7 separate regions of the Homo sapiens genome follow, and all the other regions are linked to region 1. The links are contacts of gene promoters, found by promoter capture Hi-C in blood cells and fetal thymus (Javierre and others, 2016). All regions are on one chromosome and are shown on one strand. Each heading gives the region's core, a stretch centred on a gene start or on the middle of the fragment in contact. The rest is flanking DNA. Distances are from core to core; before and after follow the strand shown. Region 1 holds the start of ENTPD3-AS1 (ENTPD3, EIF1B and MYRIP antisense RNA 1). Region 2 overlaps TRAK1 (trafficking kinesin protein 1). Region 3 overlaps TRAK1 (trafficking kinesin protein 1). Region 4 overlaps TRAK1 (trafficking kinesin protein 1). Region 5 overlaps TRAK1 (trafficking kinesin protein 1). Region 6 overlaps TRAK1 (trafficking kinesin protein 1). Region 7 has its middle 34 kb from the start of TRAK1.

Region 1 (3,890 bases), core at 1,391-3,890:
CACTCTCTCTCTCTCTATATATATACGCACACACAAACACTTTTTTTTTTCTTTCTTTTTTTGAGATGGACTCTCCCTCTGTCACCCAGGCTGGAGTGCAGTGGTGCGATCTCGGCTCACTGCCACCTCTGCCTCCCAGGTTCAAGCAGTTCTCTGCCTCCCGGGTTCAAGCAGTTCTCTGCCTCATCCTCCCAAGTACCTGGGATTACAGGTGCCTGCCACCACGCCCGGCTAATTTTTGTGTTTTAAGTAGAGACAGGGTTTCACCATTTTGGCCAGGCTAGTCTTGAACTCCTGACCTTGTGATTCACTTGCCTCAGCCTCCCAGAAGTGCTAGGATTACAAACGTGAGCCACTGTGCTTGGCCACACACATATACATTTTTTCGAAGAGATGGGGTCTGGCTGTGTTGCCCAGGCTGGAGTGCAGTAGCTATTCACAGGTCTGATTGTAGCCTGCTACAGCCTTGAACTCATGGGCTCAAGCAGTTCTGCTTCAGCCTCCAGAATAGTTGGGACTACAGGAATACACCACCACACATGGGTTCCCAATATTGTGGTGGTATTTTATTCTTTAGATTTTTACCCAGGCCAGTGCAGAGAGGTGTTACCTTTTATCACTTGATTAAGGTGATGATCTTTGCCATGACAGTTCCCAGATGTATTTCAAGCCTTTCCTCTAAGCTCTATGCCAGCATATCTTCCCTGAGACTGCTCTAGCAGCCTCCTAAATTCTGTCTTTAATCTGTTCTCTGCTCAGCAGTTAGAGGGATCTTTTAAGTAAGTAAATCAGATCACATTATTTCCTGTTTTTAACAGTTCGATTGCTTTTCATAATATTTGGAATAAAATCTCAACTTCTTACTCTGGCCTTGTATCATATGCTTTAATACCCAGATACACCTTATGCCATCCCTCCTTCATTGTGTTGAAGCCACACTGGTCTTGAATGGGCCAAGCTCTCTCCTCCTCCATGACCTTTATACATGGTGTCTCTCTTGCCAGGAATGGTCTACCCATTGTTAATACTCATCGTGTAGCAGTGCCAACTTATCTCTTGTATTTTTTCCTAGATATTTTTCTGAGAGTTAACCAGGCTACCACATAAAAAAAGGTTAAGTCCCCACCCTTCTTTTTCTAGCTCACCTTGTTTCCCTCAGAGTTATCACAATTGCAATTGTTTGACTTGTTTTGCTGCCCACGTAGGTGTTGTTTCGTTCCAGTTAGAATAAGTTCCATGAGGGCAGGACCTTTGCTGTCTTTTCTGTTTTATTTTCTCACCTTAGTCTGGTAAGGGGCTCAATAAATAGGTAGTGAATGAATCAGTCTTTAGGTCTTGTTGTCTTGCTTTATAATTTACAAAGCAAAAGATATGAATGAAGAAGAATGTTCATTTTAGCATTTTTTTTGCTACTATCTCCAAACTGGAAATTACCCAAAGGCCCATAAACAAGAGACTGGATAAATTGTGATAACAATCTATAGCAACGGAGTCTACAGCAACTACATGGAACAATGCGGATGAATTTCATAAATAACACTAACAAATAAGCTGACACAATATATCCTGTATGCTTTTATTTATATCAAATTCAAAACAGGCAAAACTAATCTACAGTTCTTATAAGTAATGATCATATTTACCTTTGGTGCAGGCAGCAGTGGCTAAAGGGGAAAAGGGGAGCTTCTGAGCTGCTGGCCATGTTGTTTCTTCATCTGGTGTTAACTACGGGAGTGTGTTATTATTTTTGTTTTAAATTTTTTTAGAGACGGGTCTTGCTATGTTGCCCAGGCTGATCTGGTACTCCTGGCCTCAAGCCATTCTCCTGCCTAAGCCTCCCGAGTAGCTGGGATTAGGGGCACGGGCCACCCCGCCTGGCTGAAGTGTTTGCTTGTGAAAATTCAGAGCCCTATCCATATGGTTTATGCGTTTTCTCACCAAATGTATGTTAACCTAAAAAGTTTTTTTTTAATGCAGTTTCCTGGCTGTACAACCAGAGAACTTTATTTGCAGGTCTGGTGAGGGGCAAGAATCTGCATATAAAAACAAGCTCTCAAACACACTTTGAACTTCCCCGAACACAATTTGAGAAACACTTTGGGACTCCCCCTACAGTTACAGAATTATTTTCTAAAGTACATTATCTTGTTATATCACTCCTGTTTAAAGTTGATTTTTATCCCCTATCTTACAGGATATAGTCCAAACTCCCTAGTCTGGCATTCAAGGCACTCCAAAATCTTACTCCCAAACACCTTCCTAGCTTTTTTCTCCGACCATTCTGCGTCTCTCATTCCTATTTCCCGCAGCATTTCATGCAGCTTGAGCCCCCTGTTTCCTAAAATGTGCTCCCCACAAGCATCTCGAGATCCCCATCCCAGGCAGCCCCAGGCAGTTTTTAAGTTTCTACCAAGCTCCACTATACTGGCAAGGCAACTTTCCCCAAGCAAGTCTTGTTTCCTTCGGAAGGTCGCAGGCGCCCAGGAATGAACAGGATAACTGCTAGTGGCTCCAGATGTCAGAAAACAGATGACCAGATCGAGCACGCGCAGATCTCTGGTTGGTCGGCTGTGTGCCTCCGGAAGGCCCGCCCTGCTCGTCCAATCACGGAGAGGGAGGGCACGTTGAGAGTGATGCCAGGAATCAAGATGGCCGCCTGGGACCGCTCTCAGCCCCTTCGGCCTCTACCTGAAGAGCCACGCCCCGTCTGCTACACCCAACTGATTGGTTCCTCAATCACAGAGAGGAAAGGCAACATGAGGATGACGTCAGTTACAAATATGGCGTTTTGGACGGGCTCGATAGTTTGCTTGGCCTCTACTCAAGGTGCGTCCGGACGTCCAATCACCAAGGGGCGCAGTCGGCTCTTAAATGTGGAGGCAGGGGCCTAGACACTCAGGCTTAGGGGATGTCAGCTGGTACTGTGTACGAGCTGTCCTGTAAACCGTCGCCCGTCCCCTGAAGCCGCGCCCCTCTTCTCTTGCTTGTTGCAAGGGACGGATGTGAAGGGCTGGGCGGGCGTCGAGCTTTGGGTTCTTGCAGTGGGTCATAGACCTGAGGGCACTAGTCCCGCGGCCCAGATGGGGGATGCGAGGGACAGTAGGAGCACGTCCACTTGTCCCACAGTCTCTGCGGTGTCACGAGGCCAGGACTGCCTGCCTGTAACCAGATTGGCCCCTGTATTTGTCAGCTTCAGCTGACTAGATATGTCTCAGTTTTGTTTGTTCAGACACTGGCGATGGGGGCGTCAGTTTAGCAGACAAAATATTTACCTGTAGCCCCAAAGAAAAAGAAACATAAGTCAGTACAAGAATCAAACCAAAAGCTGTGCAGAACCCTGACTTTCTTTCTTGTTCTTAATAACTAACCTTCCAGAGAAGTGACCTAACCCTAGTTATGACCAAATTGACATGGTAGCCATGTGCATAACTACCTGGCAACGTGGACAGGTGCATTTGTATTTAGGAGTGAAAAAATGTTTGTTGTATCAGTTTTTGAAATTTGCAATCTTAGGAACCCTGAAGCTGAGCAAGACTGTTCAAGCCCAGTCAGCCTAAGACCACCAGGGACAAACCTGTAGTCAGCAAAACCAGGTCTATCGATCTTTTTTAATGAGGGAGATTGCACACCAGAGACACCATGGGACATTTTACCAGGGGAAGGAAAATATAAAGTTACAGGATTTTGAGGAAGTGTAAAGTTTAGATGGAACTTAAATGAAGCAGGGTTTTAATAGCCTCAAAACAAAGCAGGACTGTGAAAAAGGGTCAACATCAGGCCTAGACTGCAGAGTGGACCCATTGTCCTGTTTTTTTGAAAACCTTTTCTGAAGCTTTGCAACTGGCTGCTTGTAAATTGAAGCTGTATCTCTGTGTTAAAGTGACTTAGGT
Region 2 (3,890 bases), core at 553-3,052, 1.8 Mb before region 1:
TTGCTATGGGGAAATTGAGGGTGCAATATACACCCAGATACAGCTGCTTCCAAGGAAGCCTCTGAGAACGGAGAAACACTGGCCATGCCACACACCCAAGCTATTTTAAAAACTCACATAAATAACTTCTATAAATGTAAATTTACAAAAGCATCTCAAAATCTTGGAAAAGGGACTCCACCTTTGGGATGCACTGAGGGCCTTCCATGTTCTTTTTGCCACTCTTGGGAAGTGGCCGACTTGTGTAAAATAAACCCTATGACCCTGACCTTTCTTTCCTTGACTTAAGCATGTAGTGGGATGCTGCTGTCACATGACTTGGATCTGCTTTGCAAGTTCTATAAACTCCTCAACCAGTACACACACACACACACACACACACCCCAACAGTGGCACCCACAGGCCAGCCTGTTCAATCCAAGTAAAAACAAATCTATTGAAAATAAAAGCCATTGTCCATCCAGCTTAAGGGTGTGTCTTGGACTATCCCCTAGGAATATCAGTATATTTTAGTTGTTTAATGCCCAGCTTCTAATGACTTTGTTGCCTTTTGCTTGAGGGGTGGAAAGGGGAGAGGAAGATGTGTCTTTGCCTGTCAGCTGCATGAGAAACAGTTCCCTTTCCATTAAACAGATAGGGAAGAAGCAATGCTTTATCTCTTCCTAAAAGACTAAAATATCAGGGCATGGAAGATGCTCTAAAGACTTTCCTGTCTCTTCATTATGTAACTCTGCCCATGATATTTTCAGGGGGAAAAAAAGTTCTATGATGAGTTCACGTGGGAAAAGCTGCATAAATAGTTTGCCCTACGAGTCATCATTAATACAAGTACTATGTTAGGGATTCATGTGGCTTTAACAAGTGTTTTCTCTGGAGGTGAGGAGTCGGGGAATCAAGAGCAGTTTCAGATGCAACAGTGCAACTTTCTTGTTTTAAAAAATACAAAAGTGATTTTAAACTGTAATATGTTGTACAAGATAACACTTTTAAAGGCCTTAGTTCTGGGCTTCACAGAGGCTTGGTATTTATTTTTTTCTCTGCTTAAGCATTTCTTCAACAGAGCTCTCGACTGCCCCTGCAGCTCCGTAGAGGTCCCTGAGCTCCTCGGTGATCAGACATCTGGCCAGCAGGAACCTGGGAGGTTTCTATCACAGAGATTTCGAACCACACATCACAAGATCTTTTTCTGGTTTCTGCACAACTTATTTTTGGTTTCTGCAAAATTAAAAGTCGACTCTTCTTCCCACTACACCAAGTTGCCTACCCTGTTTCATCTGAAAAGTATGTGATTTAAGAGATAAACAATTTCACAGCATTGTGCAGAGAGGGTCAGAAATTCTCTCAAGTGCCCCTGGGGTATCTTCTAGAGAGAGGGGGATTTTTAGAATGCTATTAAAACGTCCAAAGGGCAAATGCAGAAATCCCTTTGTAGTCTTCAGACACCAACAAAGCTGGTCCCTATACCCTCTGTCCTCTTGTCCTTCCTTCTGTGGCAGACACCAACAGGTGAAGGGAGCTGGCCTGGCTGAGCTGCATCAAGACCTTTCCCCACTAGTGCGTTCAAGGCCAGCACAAGAGAGCACTTCACCTGTGCTTCACTAGGCAGTGTGGTTGCACAGCTCCTCCTCTCAACACAGGGTGCTCCCTCAAGGGCCCTCCACATTAGAAGGGTGTCAGGTTCAGACACCTCCTCAGCAACCCACGTGCCTCTAGGAGCACCAGGGGGCCCTCTGTAGTGTTCAGAGGTGAGGATACCAGAGAGAAAATGCTCAACAAGTGGGCTTTGTTCTGGATATTTTAAGCAGGGTTGACTCTATGCTGTTTGTTTTGAAGGAGTCAATTCTTTCATTCTTCATTCATTTTTCCACTTGCAGGTGGCAGTTGGCCTGTTTTACTCTGGCTTAATATATATTCTGACGGCAGAGCACAGGGCTTTCCTTAGCATCTCCTAATACAGGTGGGTGTGAGCCAACTATCCACTCTGTCCATAACAACAAAACTCCCTCATAACTGCCATAAAACCAGGCTGAATCGAAGTGTTCCCAACAGCATGGGAACTCACATCAACTCTCTCAGTGTAGACAATGGGAAGGAACTTGCCTGCACCCAAGGGTCTGTGAATCGAGCATACCAGACTTTTCCTTCCAGACCCATCAAGCCCCCAAACCAACTTCTCACAAGCCTGTCTGAACCCCAGTTCTGTGGTCTGTGGTGTACTGAAGAGGGGACAGGATACAAGCTGGCTGAGCTTTGCTCTAGCTGCCCCGCCCGGGCAAAGCTGCAGGAACACCCAGCTGGCCTGACTCCGCCTGGCTCCTTCTCACCACAAGCCCTTCTCTGCCCTTTCCTCACTCAGTCACTGCTCCTGACCTTGGGCCTATGTATCAAACAAGGAGGCAACGAAAGAAGCTGATTCCTGGCTTTCGCCTTGGTGGCCCAGTTGCTGGAGATTTAGGGAATTTTTTAAGGGCAATTTTAGCCAAGTGTGTTTTTTGTCTTCCATTCTGACTTTAAGATCTCAGCTCTAGGCCAGATGTGGTGGCTCACACCAGGAATCCCAGCACTTTGGGAGGTCGAGGCGGTCAGATCACTTGAAGCCAGGAATTCGAGACCAGCCTGGTTAACAGGGTGAAAGCCTGTCTCTACAAAAATACAAAAAATTAGCTGGAATGGTGACGTGTGCCTATAGTCCCAGCTACTTGGGAGGCTGAGGCAGGAAAAGCACTTGAACCGGGAGGTGGAAGTTGCAGTGAGCCGAGATTGCACCACTGCCCTCCAGCCTAGGCAACAGAGCAAGACTCCGTCTCAAAAAAAAAAAAAAAAAAAAAATCTCAGCTCCAATTAGGACATGGTTCTACTGCAGGGCCACTGCCAGGTAAGATGTCAAGATGCCATGATTCGTGTAAGTTTTTGAGGATATCTCCCCTCAATATGAACCAGTCTTGATGAGTAAAAGCATTAAAATAAACTGACTGTCAATTTTCTCTATCCATGTGGCTTGAATCCTACTTCTTTCTCACCTTTAAGGATCAAAGCATTCAAGATAATTCAACTGAACTGCCCATCCACTAGCCAACTACCAATTTAACTGTGTGACTTTAACTCTTAATCCTTTGCCACATGCAGGCTCTTCCCCACACAAATGCCTAAAATACAGAGTACTGACAGAAAAAGATGATAACTAGTTCTGATAAAGTATACTTTCTATATAAATTAAAACATAAAACATATCACTGAAATAAAGTAAAACTATAATCTAAAACTTTTTAAACAATCCATTTTAATCATCTAAATTATTTACAATACAATAACATGGATTCATCCTTTTTAAGACATGGGATTGTAAAAATCAACAAGTGAATGATGCTTCAAATAATACATTTAAATACATTAATCAAATTTTTTCAGTGCTTAAAACTTTTTCTCCATGGGACAGCAGGCTCTGGACAAAAGTGCCTAGCATACAAGTTTTCCCAATTTCCTTCTATCATACCAGCTGCACATAAAAAGGTTCATCACCTCCTGTCTCCAAAGTGTCTCCCTACTGAGTGTTCCCAGGCAGACAATAGTTCCTGGGATAGTGCTGTTTGGTAACAGAAAAGCCCAAGCGTAGAGGACGGATTAAAAGGCAGGGACCAGACCACCATGGATACAAATCCCAAGACAGAGGATGCCCCATGCCTTCCCCATGAAGCTTATCTGTCTGCCTGTGTCTCCATGATTGCAGGCATAGAGCTACTTGGGACCTCCAGGATGATTTACTTAGCGATATGCTTTTTACATTCTAAGAATCAAAATGGTCCTGTAATTCCCAATAGAGAAAATAGAGCCAATTCATTGTTCTCCCCTCTCCCCTCTGAAGCCAGTTTTTAAAGATGAGCCTTACCCAG
Region 3 (3,890 bases), core at 498-2,997, 1.7 Mb before region 1:
GCTGCAGTGAGCTATGATCACACCACTGCACTCTGGCGTGCCCAATAAAGTGAGACACCCCATCTCTAAAAAATAAATAAATAAAAATTAACACTAACAAAAGATAATAAGAGGAGCTGAGGGATGCTGTCAGCTGTGTTCTATTATTTCCCTTAATCTGGACTGGGAAGGACAATAGTCAATCACTGTCGGTACCCAGAGCCTCAACATTGCTAGGTTTTGAACACTGCACTGGTCCAAGTTGGTCTCTGGGAATCTCAAAACTGTAAAAACTGTGGCCGTACGTGATGTCTGGAGACTCGGCCTCTTCCAACTGCAGCTCCTTGCGCATCGTTCCCTCAATCTCTGCTGCCAAGGAATCCTGGGAAAAGCCAGAAAGACAAATGTCAAGTGAGCGCCAATTCAAATGCTCTGTCTCTAAAAGAGGTATGCACCCAGGTGGGCCATGGAGAGTAAACCAAGGCATCAGAAGCTCACGGTCTTCCCACAACACAAACTTAACAGCACTCTCTGTTGTCAGAGACCCTGGCTGAGCAGTTTCCCAGGCAGGTTCTGAGTGTGGCAGTGCCACTGGGCACTGAGTGTAAAGCTGCTGACTCATATGCCATTAGGTGTCTAAAAGCAAACCCTATGCTCCGTTGGCCAAACCATGGAGCTGTAACCATGGCTACGAGATGGGATGCAGAACTTATGAGGGAGGGGTGATGTGTTCAGAATGATGGAGACAGGTGAATTTCCAAATACCTCTGAGCTTACAGTGAGATATGGCAACAGAGCCCATACAAGCCACACAAAGCTATTGTCCCCCTAGTCTACAGGGTCTGTCACACCCCCTCTGTGTCTAAGATTCTGACACCAAGAATAGACCAAGGGCCTCCAACTTCGGCTCCTGGGGAAGCCTTTCCCACCTCCAAAGGGCACTCTGGTTCTGTGCTAGTGAGAGGGTCTCTACAGACGTGACGTGAGTCACACGCACTGCCATCTCTAGGTCCCTGCTCTCATCCTCCCTGGCCTCCTGCAAGGGAAGTTCCTCTCACCGCCAACTATCCATGGCCCACCCACCTTTAAACAACCTGCCCAGGAAATGTAGGATTCCTGTTTCCACTAGGAATCTCACATTTTTTTCTGAAGCAGACACCAAACACAGTAAGTCTTTGCCACTCTTCTCAACAGCTCACATGTTTCTCTCTCCAGCTTTGTGGGTCAGGGGAAGGCTAGTCACTGATGGCTTCTCACTTCACCAATGGGCCAGGCCTCAAGCTGAGACTCAACATTAAAGGCTGCCAGATGGATGTCCCCTCTCCTGTACCACCCATCACTCAGCACTGTAGGAGGTGGAGCCTAACACACAATCCTTTACACATGGTAGATACCCACAGGACCAAGTGTGTGCAGAAAAGCACCAGTTCAGCACCAGAGGAGGATATCCATGGAGGATAACCTGAAGGGAAAGGCTAAATTCATGTTAAACAACAGAACAACCTGTGATGATGGACGCATCCTCTGTGCTGGGACATATGTACATGTGGAAACCACCAGCCAGGGGTGGCTAGTGAGCACAAGAAATGTGGCTTGTGACTGAGGACCTGAATTCGTAATTATATTTTAACTTAATTGATTTAAATTTGCACAGCCACATGTGGCCAGTGGCTTCCCAGCAGATACCGCCTGGGGACTCCAGGGCATCCACCTCAGCAGCTTCATGGTCCATGCGGATGCTCCGGTCTGGAGGCTGGAACCAAGCGGGGAGACTCCACAGGAGTCAGCAGGAAGTGAGATGAATAAAGGGCTAGCAGGCTTTTTTCAGTCCTTGTTCACAAATATGCATTTTATTTTGTAATTATTACCCACAGATTGCCATTAAACGTTATGTCCAGTAAGGACTTCCCTAGGTGAGTCTGACATCTTTTAAGCCAGCTTATTTTTTAATACTGTTATTCACCACATAATTTACAAATAGAGAAGAAAGGACCTTCATACACCTTAAGAAAAATGAAGTGTCAAATTACTACAGTCAGCCCTCCGTATCTGTGGGTTCCACTTCTTCAGATTCAACTAATCTTAGATAGAAAATTTGGGGGGAAAAAAAACAAAAAATAATACAAATTTAAAAATCGGTACAGTATAACAACTCCTTACATGGCATTTACATTGTATGAGGTATTACCAGCAATCTAGAGATGATCTTTTTGTATGTGGAAGGGCATGCATAGGTTATAAGCAAACACTATGCCCTTTTATATCAGAGACTTAGGCATTGAAGGATTTGGTATCTGCAGGGGGTCCTGGAACCAATCCCCCTCAGATACTCAGGGATGACTGTAATTTCAAAGCCATACTGAGAAAAAGTCACATGCAGGCTCTGTGACTTGTTTTTGGCCATGACCCTCTCCCCTCTGGCAATCCAGGCAAGTCTGTGGACTCCTTCCTGGAATAATATTTTTAGGCAAATAAAATTATGATTATAAAAGAAGGCAGATATGTATCAATATAACAACGTGTGTGTGTGTGTGTGTGTGTGTGTGTGTGTGTGTGAGAGAGAGAGAGAGAGAGAAAGAGAAAGAGAGAGAGAGAGAGAGAGGAGAAAGGAGAGAGAAATTAGTTCAGGACTGGTTACTGCTGTCATTTTGAAGTGGAGATCAGCATCTGTGGTGTTGTGAGGCAGCTGTAACAACTGAAATGTGCCATAGGGCCAGGCGCGGCGGCTCATGCCTGTAATCCTAGCACTTTGGGAGGCCGAGACGGGTGGATCACCTGAGGTAAGGAATTCGAGACCAGCTTGGCCAACATGGTGAAACCCCATCTCTACTAAAAATACAAAAAAAAAAAAAAATTAGCCGGGCGTGGTGGCACATGCCTGTAGTCCCAGCTACTTGGGAGGTTGAGGCAGGAGAATCGCTTGAACTCAGGAGAGGGAGGTTGCAGTGAGCCAAGATCGCACCACTGCACTCCAGCCTGGATGACAGAGCAAGACTCCGTCTCAAAAAAAAAAAAAAAAGAAGAAGAGAAAAAGAAATGTGCCATAAAAATACCTGTGATTTCTAATGATGACAAAGTCACAAGCAGTGCTAATATCACTGTGACCTGGTGACCTTCATACAGGAAGGAAATATTGAGTACAATTAGGAACTAATTTCACAGGCCCCCCCCAAATTTCGTCTGTGGATCCCAGATGAACTCCTGCCATTGGGCAAGAGAATTGGGAACATAGTTGTGCAAAAACTGCTACTCACTGTTTTATTCAGCGATTAGAATGGCTAGGAGCAAAAGAGGCAGATCTGGGCGTTCTGCATGATGCAATCTTTAGACTGCTTTAAATACCTTTAATGCATAATACACTTTAAAAATAGCCATCTTCAAAAACTGGGCTGTGCCAAGAGCTACAGAAAAAGGCAAACAAAAACTTTACCTCAGCAAATATGAAAGCTGAGAATCCCTCAAAAAGAAACTGAAATGCAAATTTCAATTCGACTTTTCTCACACAATAGTTCAGTTTTCAAAGAGAGGTCTGCCCTTGAGAGTGGGGAAGGCAGTGGAGTGGATCCTGGGTGCCCAGGAAACAAGACAGCGCCAGGAGCTCACTGCACCAAGATGACAAGCCAGGAAGGAGGGAACCCAGGTAAGGAGCCTGCAAAGCTACACAGGCCAGCGTGTGAGCCAAGTGTGGTTAGCGCTAGATCAGGGAACTTGGGGGACTGAATATTCTTTGCTGCTTTTACTGAGATTCCTGGAATCACTGGATCACCCATCTGTGCCCTAGAAAGCTGACTATGTTATATGTCTTTCTTTTTGTTTCCCTCAGATTTCAGTGAAGCTTCTTGAGGCGGAGAGGGGGTGGTGGCTATTCTAGCCTGACTTCCTGACTTTGATGCATGGGAGCAAAGAAGAAA
Region 4 (3,890 bases), core at 176-2,675, 1.7 Mb before region 1:
TGTGTGAATGATCAGAAAGGCCTGTAGGATTTAGACTCCACTAACCATACAGACCCAACCATACGAACAGACTGGGATCCTTCAGAAAGCAGCTGTTGGCATAATTATTAAACAATAGTCTTAAACTGATAATTTCATAATGGCATAGCCCCCTCCTCCTCAAGTGGCCTACATTCTAAGGTTATGCAACCAGCTCCATACCATGAAAACTAGGTTGTTATTTTTTAAATATACATTAAAAAGACTACTATGATTGCACACACACACACACAGAGTAATATTTCATTACATGTACAATTTACTGTGGTCATACAAGGCTGCACACAAGCACTTTAGGACTATGGGTCTTTGTTCTTCTTCCGTTGGAGAAATGGGTTGTGAAACAAAAGAACGCTTTTGTCTGCTAAAGATACATCAGGGTTGTTTTATTTTAAATCAGTGACAAGGAACTGATTCGCCGCTCAACAAACACCAAGAAGGTAGCGTAAGTTTTATTCTATTGGGGGAGGAGTGAATATAAATGGATTTATGGCCAGCCAACGTGCAAAATTTTTTGAAACCTGTCACTTTGGGACTAAATAAATAACTTCTTAGTAATGTTTTGTAACTAAGACTTCAGTGAATAATTCTGTTAAGAGTCAAAGCTTTCCTAATGACCCACATTCAGTAACAGCCCATGCGACACATTTGGGAATTGAAGTGTATTACTAAGTCAAACTCAGCAGCATTACAAATGGCAAACAGCAACTGGAATTCAATAGGTCTCTGAATATTTTATTAAATGCAAGTAGAGATCATCCTAGTAAATTAGCTCAGAGAAATCGGATCTGTTGGAATGATTTTCTAACTTAGGGAGGAGACCTGAAATCTGGTTCTAAATCTGAAACCCTACCAAGACAGTGCCACCAGAGCCAGCAGACAAGACCCCTCCACCCAACACTTTCATGAGATCCCTCCTGTCCAAGCGTGGGGGGAAATATGCTGCCTCAGACAGAGCTGCCAGGGAGGGAGAAGCAAGGGAGATTTATAAGGGTAGCTTTAAACCAGGATCTAATTTGATGTAGATGAAGTCCAGCTCAAATTGCTCTAGATAGTCCATCAGCTCGAGGTCACACAAGTGCTTAAGTGAAGACTCCTATGCTACCAACCCGAGTTAGTCTTCTTCACGCACAGCTGTGATGGTCTGCAGGCGTGCAGATACAAACCCTGGGGCCCCCCAGCCAGCACGCCAAAGCATCTGCAGCACCCTTTATACACCAGGTAACAGACCACAGCAACTAAGTGGTCTCTGTGTTTAAATTTGTGTTGTCACTTGAGGGCCTGCTTATCCCCACTCACCGGCGCCCACTCTCCTCAAAAAACTGAGTCCTCTGCCTTCCTGGAAAAAAAGAAAACTGGGCTACCTTTTAACTAACCTGGCTCTATTATCTGTACAAGAAGATTCAGAGCTGCTATTTCTCTAACACTATATTATTTAGAGATAATACTCAAATTTTTAAGGCTAAGTTTTTGAATTAAGGTAACTGTAATTATTCAGATAGTCAGTCATGTGTAGATAACCACAAGCAGACAGAAGAAATAACACAGAGGGGGCCGGGTGAGGTGGCTAATGGCTGTTATCCCAGCACTTTGCGAGGCCAAGGCAGATGGACCACTTGAGGTTAGAAATTCGAGACTAGCCTGGGCAACATGGCAAAACCCTGTCTCCACTAAAAAAAAAATTTTTGTATATATATAAAATTTTATATATATTTTTGTATATATATAATTTTGCATATATATAAAAATTTTGTGTGTATATATATATATACACACAAAAATTAGCCAGGTGTGGTGGCACACACCTGTAGTCCCAGCTACTCGGGAGGCTGAGGCAGGAGAATCACTTGAACCCGGGAGGCAGAAGTCGTGCCACTGCACTCCAGCCTGGGCAGCAGGGCAGGACTCCATCTTGAAGAAATAATACAGAGGGATCCTGTATACCCTTTATCCAGTTCCCCCAATGGTAACATTCTGCAAGATCATAATATCCCAACCAGGATATCAGCACTGATACAATCCATAACTTTTCCTCAGAGTTCCCGTTTTACTTGCACTTATTTGTGTGCACATGTGTGTATTAAGCTCTATGTAATTTTATTACCTGTGTTGGTTCATGTATCTACCACTTACAAGGACCCCTTGTGTTGCTATTTTATAAAGCTTTAAAATATTTTAAAAATTGAACCCAATAAAATGCACACCTGTCTCTACTAAAAACACAAAAATTAGCCAGCCGTGGTGGCAGATGCCTGTAATCCTAACTTGGGAGGCTGAGGCAGGAGAATTGCTTGGACCCGGGAGGTGGAGGTTGCAGTGAGCTGACCTTTACTAAGCACAGTGACCATGGCCAGGCACCATTCATAACCCTCTATATGGATTATTTTATGTAATCTTCAGAGCAATACTATAAGGGGTAAGCACTTATATTAACACCATTTTACAACAGAAAACTAAGGCCCAGAGACGCTGAATAACTCACCCAATGTCACACAGCTAGCAGGTGGCAAATGTCAAAATAACAGACTCTCGGTAGAGGTAGCAGCTAACACCGATGGTGCCCCTATCATGTCAAGGGATTTAACATGCTTTCTCAATTAATCTTCACAACAACCCTGCAGGGTAGTCGCGATGACTACTCCACAGATAAGAAAACTGAGGCTCTGAGACATTAAGAATCTGGATGTTAAGGACCCCACTGAGGTCACAGAGAATGAGGCTGCATTGCAGAGACTGCACCGAGGCCAGTCTGGCTCCTGTACTAAAACGGAAGACCATAAAGGACACGAGAGCAAGGCACAAACCATCGATGTGTAGGAAGTGTGTAAACAGAGCGAGCAGCATTTGGGCCTAGGGGAAAGAAAGAACCCTGACCTTGGGTTCAGAGGCTTAGGTTTTCTCAGGAGACTCTATCCAAGCCAAGGGGCTCTGAGCAGCCACCAACTAACTTCTAGGTTTTAGATTTCCTGTTCCAAGAAATAAGGAAGCAAGAGTGAGACCAATGAAGGTGAAAAAATAATAAACCATGCCTTCAGACAGCATAAACACAGGTTATGCTTTTCAAATACCAACTTCCTAGGCACTAAATCTTCAATCAACCGTGGTCAAGTTTCTCTCTCTATAAGAATGTATTTCAAAGAGAAGTTCCATTTCTGACCCAAGGAGTGCTACCAAATAAATCCACTTCCACCCAAAAGATGTTTCAAAAAAGAAAGAAAAGCAAAATAAAGGAGCCACCATAAACCTCTACGATAATTTTTTTTTCTTTTGTTAGAGACAGAGTCTCGCTCTGTCGCCCAGGCTGGAGTACCATGGCGCAATCTTGGCTCACTGCAACCTCGGCCTCCCTGGTTCAAGCGATTCTCCCACCTCAGCCTCCCAAGTAGCTGGGATTACAGGTGCCTGCCACTATGCCCAGCTAATTAGTGTATTTTTAGTAGAGATGGGGTTTCACCAGGTTGGCCAGGCTGGTCTCGAACTCCTGACCTCAGGTGATCCACCTGCCTCGGCCTCCCAAAGTGCTGGCATTACAGGCATGACCCACCGTGCTCAGTCTCTATGATAATTTAATATAAGAAAATTATGGTCCATCTCCTAGAAAAAGAAGTTAAATGCAACTTGCTGCCTACCCACCATAGTAAAATACACACGCCTCACCTCTGACTAACACCAAACAACCATTACCACGCACCAAGCTCTGCACTGAACAAGGCAGGACACCTGCCCTCCTGGGGCACACAGAAAACAGGGCAGCCTGGAGGATGGGGCTCAGGGGGTTCGAAGCCTGACAAGTAGCTTTAAGAAGGGTGGAATTAAATGGAAAACCACTAGAGAGTTTTTGAAGGGGGGTT
Region 5 (3,890 bases), core at 842-3,341, 1.7 Mb before region 1:
CCCATGTGATATCTTTTTCCTTAAAGCATATGACCAGTGAGATAAAGTATCAAAAGGTAAGGCTATGAAAAAATGCCTTTTTAAAAAACTCTGGCCCAGGCGCAGTGGCTCACACCTGTAATCCCAGCACTTTGGGAGGCTGAGGCTGGTGGATCACTTGAGGTCAGGAATTCGAGACCTGACTGGCCAACACGGTGAAACCCTGTCTCCACTAAAAGTATAAAAATTAGCCAGGCATAGCGGCGCACGCTGGTAATCCCAGCTACTCAGGAGGCTGAGGCAAGAGAATCACTTGAACCCGGGAGGCAGAAGTTACAGTAAGCCAAGATCACGCCACTGCACTCCAGCCTGGGCGACAGAGCGAGACTCTGTTTTTAAAAAAAAAACAACTGTATATTTGATTTTTCTGTGACATGACCAGCCTTATAAACATTAGCAGCAAATTTTCAGATGCTTTAAAGGCCCAAAGAATTAGGACATGGGATAGGATTATGGAGATGGCCCGTGCAGCTCTCCTTAACCTTGGCCACAAGGCCAAAAGCCCCACAGACCCCCTATGGAAGGAGACACCATGTTTGCCTCAAGGGGAGGACACATCCAAGGCCTGACATCAGGTAAACGTAACAGAAGAGTCTTCAAGAATTCCCCAGGAGGCCAGGCGCAGTGGCTCACGCCTGTAATCCCAGCACTTTGGGAGGCCAAGGCGGGCGGATCACGAGGTCAGGAGATCGAGACCATCCTGGCTAACATGGTGAAACCCTGTTTCTACTAAAAATACAAAAAATTAGCCAGGCGCAGTGGTGGGCGCCTGTAGTCCCAGCTACTAGGGAGGCTGAGGCAGGAGAATGGTGTGAACCCCGGAGGCGGAGCTTGCAGTGAGCCGAGACTGCGCCACTGCACTCCAGCCTGGGGGACACAGCAAGACTCCGTCTCAAAAAAAAAAAAAAAAAAGAATTCCCCAGGAATGCTTTCACCATGCCAAACATCAAGCCAGACCATTGTCTCACCGTCCCAGCAATGTGGCACACAGAGATTTGCCTGTTATTACAGATCAGTAAGCTGGGATGCACGAGGGCTGCGGCACATCTTGTTGGTCAAGTTGATTCAGCTAACTAAGCAGCAGATCAGGTAGGAGCAGCCTCAGCTGTTCCACTAAAAGCTGTGATCTCCCCTCCAACACCTGCTACCCAGCTCCTAGGAGGGTGCACTTGAAATGCTGGGGAATTCCCAGGATGTCATCATCAGGAAGTTTTTGTTCTAAACAGGTGGAAGACTTCATACTTGTGGTAGGCATGTAAAATGAAACATAATCACAAATTAGGGAGGTGTTGGAATAATTTTCCCCTTTAAAGCACAGGAAGCAGTAGCCGGGCGCGGTGGCTCACGCCTATAATCCCAGCACTTTGGGAGGCTGAGGTGGGCGGAACACGAGGTCAAGAGATCGAGACCACCCTGGCCAACTTGTTGAAACCCCGTCTGTACTAAAAATACAAAAATTAGGTGGGTGTGGTGGCATGCGCCTGTAAACCCAGCTACTTGGGAGGCTAAGGCAGGAGAATCACTTGAACCTGGGAGGCGGAGGTCAGGTTGCAGTGAGCTGAGATCACACCACTGCACTCCAGCCTGGTGACAGAGCGAGACTCCATCTCAAACAAAACAAAACAAAAAAAAGCACAGGAAGCAGAGGCAAGAATTTACTAACTTGTCTGCAGAACCACGGAGGGTCAGGAACCTGCACAGGACAGGAGCTTATTCAAGCTCCTGCTGTGAATGGACACTGCCGGCCCACCATGGAGGAAAGGAACCCTTTATGCTCTCTGTGGTCACCATTTCCCCACAGTTACAATTCACATTAGTAACAAGCTAATGTAAACAAGTCAAAATGTGTTCTCAAATAAGTCACAAATGAAGGGCATCAATTTCCTGACCAATCCCAAAGCCCAAAGGTCCATGGCTTCAGGTAGATATGCAATAACAACAGCCCAAAATCCCACCAACCCCCAGCCTGTCAAACCATCAAAAGGCCAGGCTCAACCATAAGGAGAGGCTTACCCCTCGGCATCGCCTCCTTGCCCAGTTACTGTAATGCCCCATGGTGGCCGGCCACATTGTGGCTGGTGCCATTTCTGGAAAAGAGCTTTTTATTTATTTATTTTTTTATTTTTTGTTTTAAATAGAGATGGAATCTCACTGTGGTGACCAGGCTAGTCTCGAACTCCTGACCTCAAATGACCCTCCCATCTCATTCTCTCAAAGAGCTTTTTAAATCATACTATTGCTCTTTAAAAACCTCCCAGCTCCCTATAAAGTGCTTCATCATTCTGCCTCTACGTTTCTACAGGAGAGGCTACTGAGTGTTTCCCAGTATGCAATTGCCACTTCTTCCTTTTGGTCATGCAACCCCCAAGATGTGGCTGGGCCCACGGCCAACCAGCTAAAAACTGTGTTTCCCAGCTTTCCCTGCAGTAAGGTGTATCCACATGCCTGGTTAACAGGATGTAACAGAACTTCCAAGTCATGCCCTTTCCGTCTGTCCAGTTGCAGAGTTGGCCTGGTGCTGGAGCCATGCTTAGCTAAATTAGTAAAGGCAATGCCCAGGAAATGACCAGAGCTACCTCAGCTGCCTGAAACACCCTGGACCTCCTTCCACTTGAACTTTTAAAAGTAAAAGAAATAAACAACTACCTTATTGAGGCTACAGTTCCAATTACTTTGGTCTCTGTTAAAGCAGCTAACTCAACACCCTAACAGCCTTTCTTATCAAGCCCAGCCTCTGCTATTTTCTCCAATTTCCCTTCACTTAAGGCATACCAACTTCTCACCATTTTCCAAACACATTTTTTTCACAAATCTGAGTTTTTAGACCAGCTGTTTTAGCTCCCTAGAATGCCCTTCACTGCCTAGCAAACTCCATCTTAAAATATCATTCAAATGTCACTCTCTATTGCAAAGCCTCCCTTAACCTCTCTTCTCTGGCTTCCACAGTTCTCAGTACATAAATGACTTCACTACGATGTTAGAAGTGTATTCTCTGTGGCTCTTCCCTACTAATTGTGAGCCCCTCAAGAGAAAAGGCTTTGAATTATCCACCTTACCTTCAGCCCAGCCCTTACTACTTTGCCAGGCAACAGTAAGTGTGAGAAGAGTGATGGAACAAGGGAAGGAGAGAGCAGCAGCCGGTGGCAGGACTAGTCTGTGAATCCCCTGCCTGTCCAGGACAGACACATGCCCAGCCTGCAACATGAGGCAGGTGGAGCCATCTAGTGTCAAGGTCTTTTCAAACCCACCTCAGTATCACCCTAGGTCTTTATCCAGCATAGAGGAAAGTCCCATGGGATGGTAAATGTCCCCTCAATTGCTCAGCAGATGTCAATCCAATACCTACCATTCTTATGACATCACTTTGAAAGTAAAATAACCTAAAAGGACTCTTTACCTCTTCAGAGGTATAACCCTTCCTAGGTTTTTCCCAAGGCGTAAGATTTGGAATGGACCCTCCTACCCAGGATGTGGGCTTCAGTTAGGGCCACCAGGGAGTGAAGAAAGTGTGCTGGAGCCTGCTTGGCACCTGGAAGGTGCAGAGCTGCAGAAGCAGCTGTGTCCATTCTCCACCTGACTGGGGCTAGATCCTCACCTGCAGAGAGCGGCTAGGAGGAGACTCCTCCGTCTAGGGATTTGCACTGATTCTCAGGTGACATGCCAGCTTCACAAAACCTGCCAGGTGCCTGAGGCAATGCTTACATTTTACAGCAAAGGCAATAGCTCTAAATTAGTGTCCAACATTTAACACTCAGAGAACCTCATGTAAATACAGATCTCAGCGGGGCGCAGTGGCTCACACCTATAATCCCAGCACTTTGGGAGGCCGAGGCGGGCAGATCACTTGAGGT
Region 6 (3,890 bases), core at 771-3,270, 1.6 Mb before region 1:
TCCTCCAGGAAATACCGAAAATGCTCAGCCTCTACACACTGAGGAACGTAAATCAAGATCAGGGGCTGCTGCCGTTTATACACCTCAGCTGGCAAAGAGCAAATGTGCTCATACCAGGGGTGCAGACAGTGAGCGCCCACACACTTCTCCCACATCGTCTGAACACACACCATATACAACCTCTATGACTCACTCCATCAAATTACAGTCCCCAGCCTAGGAATTCACACAAGTACATTCATTACTTATTTGTTTAAATATGTGGGAACATGGCTATCCCCAACCCAGTGGTATTTGCAGAATACTGGAAACAATCTACTTGTCTTACAATAGGGAATTAATTAAATCAATCGTGGGATTTATAGACAATGAAAAATAGGCAGCCAGCAAAAAGAATATGATGGATGTATGCTAAGTGGAAAGGTCTCCAATATAGATTACTGAGGAGAAAAGGCAACAATATGTTTAGTATATGTTCCCGTGTGTAGAAAGCTTTCAAAGCAGGGGAGGGGACATACATACCATACAAACGCATGCACAGAACATTTTTGGAAAGATAAGCAACAGTCATTCCCTTGGGAGGAAAGGCAGAGGTCTGGGAATAAGATGAAGGTGGAAAACCTCAAAGTGTATTCTTTAAACTGTATGCATTTTTCTTGTTGCACACTGTTTAAGCCAATGCTTCTAAGAGTGAGTAGGAATGGTGCTTGAGGCACCATTTAAAATGCAAGAACTGAAAACAACTTACAGCACCCATCAATGGGGGCTGCTGCAGTGGTTCTGTCTTGGACCCTTGAGTAGCCAGCATGCTTCACTGCCTTTGTGGCTGCCCCCTTCACAGCAATTCTACCTGCAGGGGCAGGGCCTAATTGCTCATTATGTGTTCTAATGAGGCCACGTCCCCTCAGCGACATTTGAAATACAAGCTATGTCATTTTTCTTTAGTTTCTCCTTTATAGTACGGTAAGGCATTATACTGATTCTTTTAAAATTATGTGTTTGGCCATGCGCGGTGGCTCACGCCTGTAATCCCAGCACTTTGGGAGGTCGAGGCGGGCAGATCACTTGAGGACACGAGTTCGAGACCAGCCTGGCCAACATGGCGAATCCCCATCTCTACTAAAAACACAAAAAACTAGCCGAGTGTAGTGGCACACATCTATAGTCCCAGCTACTCAGGAGGCTGAGGCAGGAGAATCACTTGAACCCGGGAGGCAGAGGTTGCAGTGAGCTGAGATCACACTACTACACTCCAGCCTGAGCAACAGAGCAAGACTCCATCTCAAAAAAAGATAGAAATAAAATAAATAAAATTATGTTTTTAAGAGGATTCGTTATCTATGAATTTCATTTAAGGGTAACAAAAAAATGAATTACAAAATGCTTCTTCTAAAAAGAAATATTAGGTATTCCAGGACTGAGAGCTGCTGAGTTTTCCTAGCCTGTTCAGGCTGCTAGAGCAAAATACCATAAACTGGTGGCTTGTCAACAACAAACATTTATTTCTCCCAGCTTTGGGGACTGACAAGTCCAAGATAAAGGCACCACCAAATGTCTGGTAAGGGCTTGGTTCCTGGTTCACGGATGGCACCTTCTCACTCTGTCCTCACAGGGTAGAACAGGCTAGCTAGCTCTCCAAAACCTCTTTTATAAGGCCACTAATCCACTCATCAGGGCTCTGCCCCTGTGACCTAACCACCTCCCAGAGGCTCCACCACCTGATACCATTGCACTGCTGATTAGGTTTCAACATACTCATTTTGGGGAGACAAATATTCAGACCACAGCCTGGTTTAATTAAATGACTGATGATGATGATGATGATGATGATGATGACGATGATAAAGCCAAACAATGGGATATCATGTCGCTATTTTAAAGAATAAGGTAATAGTATGTGAATTCATTTTAAGTAATATGGTTAATCATCTTACAATGCAGATCAAGGAATAGGATATGGTCCCATCTGTGTTTTTTAGAAAATGAATATGTGCATAAAAACTTCTTGGAATGATTTTTTTACCCATTAAACTGCACTGATGGTAGAGTGAGAGCTGCTCTGCACTGACTATATTTTGGTACACTTTCAAGTTTTACCACGTGCATGTGTTATTTTCATAATTTAAAACCCCATTTAACAGTAAATGAAATTAGTAAAACAGAAAAAAAATGAAGAACAGTAACTTAAAGAGGGTCAGAAAACAATGCTGCCGGGTCTAAACCTCAAGGATCCCTATTTTATACAAGAGGTTAAGCTGCCTACTCTGTGCCTCCTCAAACGTGAAGGTGGTAACAGTACCCACCTCAGAGCTGTGCTGAGGACAACATGAGTTCCAGGAGCCACACTTGGAAACCTGCCAGGCACAGAGCTACTCCTCAGTAAATGGCAGCACCATTAGGATCTGTGAAGGCTAACTGTATAATATGTGTCTCCTTGACTGGGCCATGGGGTGGCCAGAAATTTGGTCAAGAATGATTCTGAATGTGTCTGTGGTAGTGTTTCTGGGTGAGATGAACATGAATAAGCAGGCTGAGTAAAACAGATGCCTCCTTACTGTGAGTGAAGTGGACCTCATCCAGTCAGCTGGGGTCTGAATAGAGCAAACAGGCTGACCCACCCCCAGGGTCTTCAGGACTGGAACACCAGTTCCCGGGCCTCAATCCTGTCAAGCCTTTGGACTGCAACTATACCATTGGGTCTCCCAGGCCTCCAGCTTGCCAACTGCACATCTTGGACTTGTCAGCCTCCACCATCAAGTAACACAATTCCTTGTAATACATTTCGATATATGTTTCTCCTATTGGCTCTGTTTCTCTAGAGAAACCTAGAACAGGATTTATAACATTATATTTCTTCCAGATCTAGTTATAAAGTTACACCTTTGCCGGGCACTGGGGCTCATACCTATAATTCCAACACTTTGGAAAGCTAAGGTGGTAGGATCACTTGAGGCCAGAAGTTCAAGACCAGCCTGGTCAACACAGCAAGATCCCACTGCTACCAAAAAAAAATAGCCAGGCACGGTGGCTCCAGCCCATAGTCGCAGCTACTTGGGAGGTGGACGTGGGAGAGTCACTTGAGCCCAGGAGTTCAAGATTGCAATACACCATGACTGCACTGCACCACTGCACTCCAGCCTATGTGACAGAGTGAGACTCTGACTCTAAAAGTAAAATAAAGTTTCAGCTCCTGATAGTTTCAGCCTGACTTGCTCAAGTTTTTCAGTGTTTATGAGAGATCAGGGCTCAGTGAAAACAGAGAAGTTTCTGACTCCAAAGTTCCCCCTGGGGCCATGAGTCCCAGACTCACACACCAACCCAGCTGCTCAGCCTGAGCCTGGCATTGGTGCACCCTGAATCCTCTCAGTCACTCCCAGTCAACGTTCCTACAACAGACCTTGGCTGAGCAGGAAGGTGCCGAGGCCCATACCTGGCCACTCTGCCAAAAACTGCCATTTTTTTTTCCTATTATAATTTATTATTTGCCAGCTTCCAAAAATAGTTTGGGGTGAACAAAGATTGATACATTATATACATGAAAAGCTTGTTTCGGCCAGGCACGGCGGCTCACGCCTGTAATCCTAGTACTCTGGGAGGCCTAGGCAGGCGGACTGCCTGAGCTCAGGAGTTTGGGATCAGCCTGGGCAACATGGCAAAACCCTGTCTCTACTAAAAATACAAAAAAATAGCTGGGCGTGGTGGCGCATGCCTGTAATCCCAGCTATTCAGGAGGTTGAGGGATGAGAACTGCTTGAACCTGGGAGGTGGAGGTTGTAGTGAGCCAAGATCATGCCACTGCACTCCAGCCTGGGTGATAGAAGTGAGACTCTGTAAAAAAAAAAAGGAAGGGGAGGGGAGGGGAGGGGAGGGGAGGGGAGGGGAGGGGAGGG
Region 7 (3,890 bases), core at 1,037-3,536, 1.6 Mb before region 1:
ACAAGAATCTAAGTTACCCTATATCCTGCCTAGAAGAGCCTCCATCACAGCTAGCTGTCTCTCTGTAGAAGAATAAAAATACTCTGAAATAAGTCACTTTTAAATTTTTTTCTGGAAAATAAAAAGCTTTCTGAGTTGGATGATTTTTTTAATAGAACACAAATATGAAGGAAAACTATACATGACCTGTCACGTATATTCTTGTAGGAAAATGCACAGAAGTGTCCACGAGGAAGAAAGGAAATCCCCGAGGCCTGCTGATAGGCACAGGGAGAAACAGGCCACAGTTCTCTTTTAGCCACTGTTTTGAAAATTTTATTAGAATTCATAAAGACTATCAAAAAGATAACTGATGAAGACAAGTCATTATCTTTCTAAAATATGGTTAACTCAGGTCCTATCCTGGAGTGGAGAGCAGGGATGGGAATCTCAAAATCTGTATACACACAGAAGCACACTTGACAGGGCCCTGAAGTCCCAGCCTGGGCAACACAAAGAGGCCTCGTCTCTAATAAAAATTTTTTAAAATTAGCCAGACATAGTGGTGCATGCCTATAGTCCCAGCTACTCAGGAAGCTGAGGGGGAGATTCACTTGAGCCTGGGAGGTTGAGGCTACGGCAAGCCATGATCGCACCACTGCACTCCAGCCTGGGCAACAGAACAAGACCCTGTCTCAAAAGGAAAAAAAAAAAGTTCCCTGAAGTCCAAAGCCTACTTATATCATACGTATGTATATTTGTGTGTATACATATACATACAAATATATACACGCATGCATACACACCTGGATTTATTTTAAATTCAGTAAATTAGCACTTTATCTTTAAAAAAATTGCAGCACAGAGCAGATGGTAAAGAGTAAATCTCTTAAGATACACATTTTTTCACATTTCAATATCTCTAAAATTGAATTTTGTCTTATAGCCAATCGTCCTTTACTATGCTTACTTTGTAGCATTTTTTGCTTTCTTAGAGGTACATAAAGCAATGGCGTATCTTACGATCTGTTGTGTGTGGGGGTGGGAGCTCAGCGCAACAATTCAAATGGGCCACCAAACAATGGGCAAGGCCCACAATGGACATTAAAGGGAGATCCCTGCATCAGCCAGGAGGTAGGACAGGTTGACTTTAAAGGTTCCCTCCAGGCCAGGCATGGTGGCTCATGCCTGTAATCCCAGCACTTTGAGAGGCCGAGGCAGGCAGATCGTCCAAGGTCAGGTGTTCAAGACCAGACCAGCCAACATGGTGAAACCTCGTCTCTACCAAAAATACATTAAAAAATAAGCTGGGCGTTGTGGCGGGGGCGCCTGTAATCCCAGCTACTGGGGAGGCTGAGGCAGGAGAATTGCTTGAACCCGGGAGGCAGAGGTTGCAGTGAGCTGAGATCACACCACTGCACTCCAGCCTGGGCAACAAGAGTGAGACTCTGTCTCAAAAAATAAATAAATTAAATTAAATTTAAAAATAAAGGTTCCCTCCAGTCCTCAGTTATCATAATAAAGATGAACATGATAAAATGAAATTTAAAGGCAAAAGCATACTTACAAACAAACCTTGTCTTCGTCAATCTCCACAACTGCCAAGGTACATGAGTATTATCTATATTTTAAAGATGAGGAGGTTCCAAGGAGTATTTTACCCAGAAGCCGGCCACAAGTCTCACTTCCCAATGAAATGCCCACTGTGGCAGAGCAGTAAGAGAAGCAGCAGCCAAACCAGAAGAGCTTAAAGGTGGCAAAAATAACCCAACCAAGGGGCGAAGGGCAAACCTGGGTAGCAGTAAAGGAGGAAATGATATTTGAGTTCAGCTTTACAAGGAAGCTCACTGAATGACATGTTCAGGTTTACAGGCATTTAAAATGAAAACGCCTTTCAGTTGGTTGTATTTTCTGGTTCCTTCAAATACTTAAGAATAAAAGCACAAACTGATTAACATGGTGTGGGCCACGTGTCAGGTGAACCAGGGTGAGTTCTCCAGGTTACAGGACACTTGATGGAGGAGAGACATGTGGCCTGCCCAAGATGCAAATGAGACAGAGCCAACCCCAGAATCTAAGTTCGTCTGCTCCCTTTCTGCTTGGCCACACACAGCAGGTCAGTGCTCGCCTTCCAGCAGGTTCTCCTCAGATCACAAGATGAGAGCAGCAGATACAGCATCACCAGCAAACATAACAAAACCTCCCCAGGAAACTGCAGCCCACTTGTTCTGATCCCAATCGGCCCAGTCACAACTACAGCAAAGGGAATGGGGCCACTGTGATTGGCCTGGACCAATCAATACCCACTGGACGCCTCCTCAACCCCTACTCCAGCATGCTGCAAAGGAGGCTTAAGAATGGAATGAAATCTGGATTCTATTAGGAAAGAAGAAAGTGTGGCAGAGATGGATGTGAATTGGCAATCAATTTCTGTTACTCCCATCATTCACCCTTCATTCCTTCCCTTCTTCCTTCATTCAAGAAGCAGGACCGTGAACCTACTGTCAGTCTTTGTGGAGAAAACAATTGCACAAAACTGGATTCCAGCCCTCCAGGAGCTCATGGTCCATCCATATTTACATAAGAATATTCCATTTTCCTTGGTATCCAAAGTAGCACTGGACAGCCCAGGTGGTCTAAACAGCAAAGAGTAATTTAGAGTGCCTTTAATTACTGCACCTTAAAATGCACCAGTGTCCTAGTTCCCATCTTCATGATCACTGCCAGCCAGGAGGTTGCTGGATCTCAATCGGCCAAAGTGGCAGAAGGTGCCCTTCACCAGGTCCCTGTTCTATTCATGGCAGCTGTGCACGGCTCAGGTTACAGGTTGGTTCAAATCCACAGAAAACTGGCTCCTCTAACTGAGGCAATTTTGGTACTTTACTTTGTCTCTCACACAAGATTTTTATTTTTAAAATCCTAATATTGGAAATAGAAATGTTGAGCTAAAAGGTATTAAGAAGGATGTAGAATAGCCTATTATTACAATCGGGGCAGAAAAAAGGACTGTGAATTCAAAAATATACAAGCACTCAATATTGTATCCTAACATGGCATACATTTAAAGGTTAAGATATGAAAAATGCATACTTTTATGTTGCACTTGGGACAATATTAAAAAGTGGAAATTTTAACCTTTCTTCTAGATTTCTGGGTAAACAAAAGAATGTTTTTAATTTCAAAATTTCTAATAATTCTCCAGGGTAAAATAATCTCTTTAATAATCAGCTAATAACTTTGCTCAATATAATTTTAAAATCAATTATATAAAATATTTCTGCTTCTGTTGAAATGTTTTTAACATCTGTTATCCAATAATTATTTCAATAATAATTTCAAAAGTCAACAAGCACATGAAAAAATGCTCAACATCATTAACCATCAGGAAAATGCAAATCAAAACCATAATGAGATACCACTTCATACCCACAAGGATTTCTATAATCAAAAAGACAGATAATAACAAGCATTGGCAAGGACATGGACAAACCAGAACCCTCACTCACTGCTGGTGGGAATGTAAAATAGCGCAGCCACTTTGGAAAACAGTCTGGCAATTTATCAAAATGTTAAATACAGAGTTACCACATGATCTAGCAATTCCTCTCATAGGTATCAACATAAAGAAATGAAAACAAATGTCCACAATAAAAAAAAGTCTACAGATGTTCACAGCAACATTATTCACAATAGCCAAAAAGTGGAAATAATCCAAAAGTTTACCAACTAATGAAAGGATAAACTAAATATTAAAAATACATAACAATGGAATATTATACAGCAATAATAAGGAATGAAGTACTGATACCTACTACAACATGGGTGAACTCTGAAAACGTTATGCTAAGTGAAAAAAGCCAGTCACAAAGGACTACATATTGTATGATTCCATGTATAACAAATGTCCAAAA

The links. Contacts are between HindIII fragments. The CHiCAGO score rates a contact against its expected background, and 5 or more counts as called.
Region 2: a fragment that was not itself captured here is called in contact with the fragment with the promoter of ENTPD3-AS1 in region 1 in 1 of 17 cell types (naive CD8 T cells); the score reaches 8.9 in naive CD8 T cells.
Region 3: a fragment that was not itself captured here is called in contact with the fragment with the promoter of ENTPD3-AS1 in region 1 in 2 of 17 cell types (M0 macrophages and total B cells); the score reaches 5.6 in M0 macrophages.
Region 4: a fragment that was not itself captured here is called in contact with the fragment with the promoter of ENTPD3-AS1 in region 1 in 2 of 17 cell types (M0 macrophages and monocytes); the score reaches 6.7 in M0 macrophages.
Region 5: a contact is called between a fragment that was not itself captured here and the fragment with the promoter of ENTPD3-AS1 in region 1, in 1 of 17 cell types (M0 macrophages). The highest score is 6.5, in M0 macrophages.
Region 6: a contact is called between a fragment that was not itself captured here and the fragment with the promoter of ENTPD3-AS1 in region 1, in 1 of 17 cell types (naive CD4 T cells). The highest score is 5.1, in naive CD4 T cells.
Region 7: a fragment that was not itself captured here is called in contact with the fragment with the promoter of ENTPD3-AS1 in region 1 in 3 of 17 cell types (naive B cells, neutrophils and monocytes); the score reaches 8.4 in naive B cells.

The regions. Positions count from the first base shown.
Region 1 is chr3:40,452,058-40,455,947 of GRCh38, reverse strand. It overlaps ENTPD3-AS1 (ENTPD3, EIF1B and MYRIP antisense RNA 1), which reads left to right and starts at 2,640. Exons shown (of 4, transcript NR_040100.1): 1 at 2,640-2,826. RefSeq lists enhancers at 2,747-2,816, 2,837-2,906. The HindIII fragment of the contact is 7,917 bases long and covers 1-3,834 here.
Region 2 is chr3:42,211,994-42,215,883 of GRCh38, reverse strand. All of the region lies in intron 14 of TRAK1 (trafficking kinesin protein 1), which reads right to left. Among named protein-coding and RNA genes, the nearest start is that of CCK, 52 kb to the left of the region's middle. RefSeq lists enhancers at 1,202-1,311, 2,268-2,769. The HindIII fragment of the contact is 3,789 bases long and covers 1-3,696 here.
Region 3 is chr3:42,195,648-42,199,537 of GRCh38, reverse strand. It overlaps TRAK1 (trafficking kinesin protein 1), which reads right to left. Exons shown (of 16, transcript NM_001042646.3): 11 at 285-361. Among named protein-coding and RNA genes, the nearest start is that of CCK, 69 kb to the left of the region's middle. RefSeq lists enhancers at 3,271-3,400, 3,481-3,590. The HindIII fragment of the contact is 4,138 bases long and covers 1-3,816 here.
Region 4 is chr3:42,172,568-42,176,457 of GRCh38, reverse strand. All of the region lies in intron 2 of TRAK1 (trafficking kinesin protein 1), which reads right to left. Among named protein-coding and RNA genes, the nearest start is that of TRAK1, 83 kb to the right of the region's middle. The HindIII fragment of the contact is 1,558 bases long and covers 647-2,204 here.
Region 5 is chr3:42,118,321-42,122,210 of GRCh38, reverse strand. All of the region lies in intron 1 of TRAK1 (trafficking kinesin protein 1), which reads right to left. Among named protein-coding and RNA genes, the nearest start is that of TRAK1, 29 kb to the right of the region's middle. RefSeq lists an enhancer at 3,010-3,099. The HindIII fragment of the contact is 5,871 bases long and covers 1-3,890 here.
Region 6 is chr3:42,093,665-42,097,554 of GRCh38, reverse strand. The region is part of intron 1 of TRAK1 (trafficking kinesin protein 1); the gene reads right to left. Among named protein-coding and RNA genes, the nearest start is that of TRAK1, 4.3 kb to the right of the region's middle. RefSeq lists an enhancer at 2,270-2,569. The HindIII fragment of the contact is 3,051 bases long and covers 495-3,545 here.
Region 7 is chr3:42,055,899-42,059,788 of GRCh38, reverse strand. It overlaps a transcript of TRAK1 not described here. Among named protein-coding and RNA genes, the nearest start is that of TRAK1, 34 kb to the left of the region's middle. RefSeq lists an enhancer at 2,157-2,266. The HindIII fragment of the contact is 4,315 bases long and covers 129-3,890 here.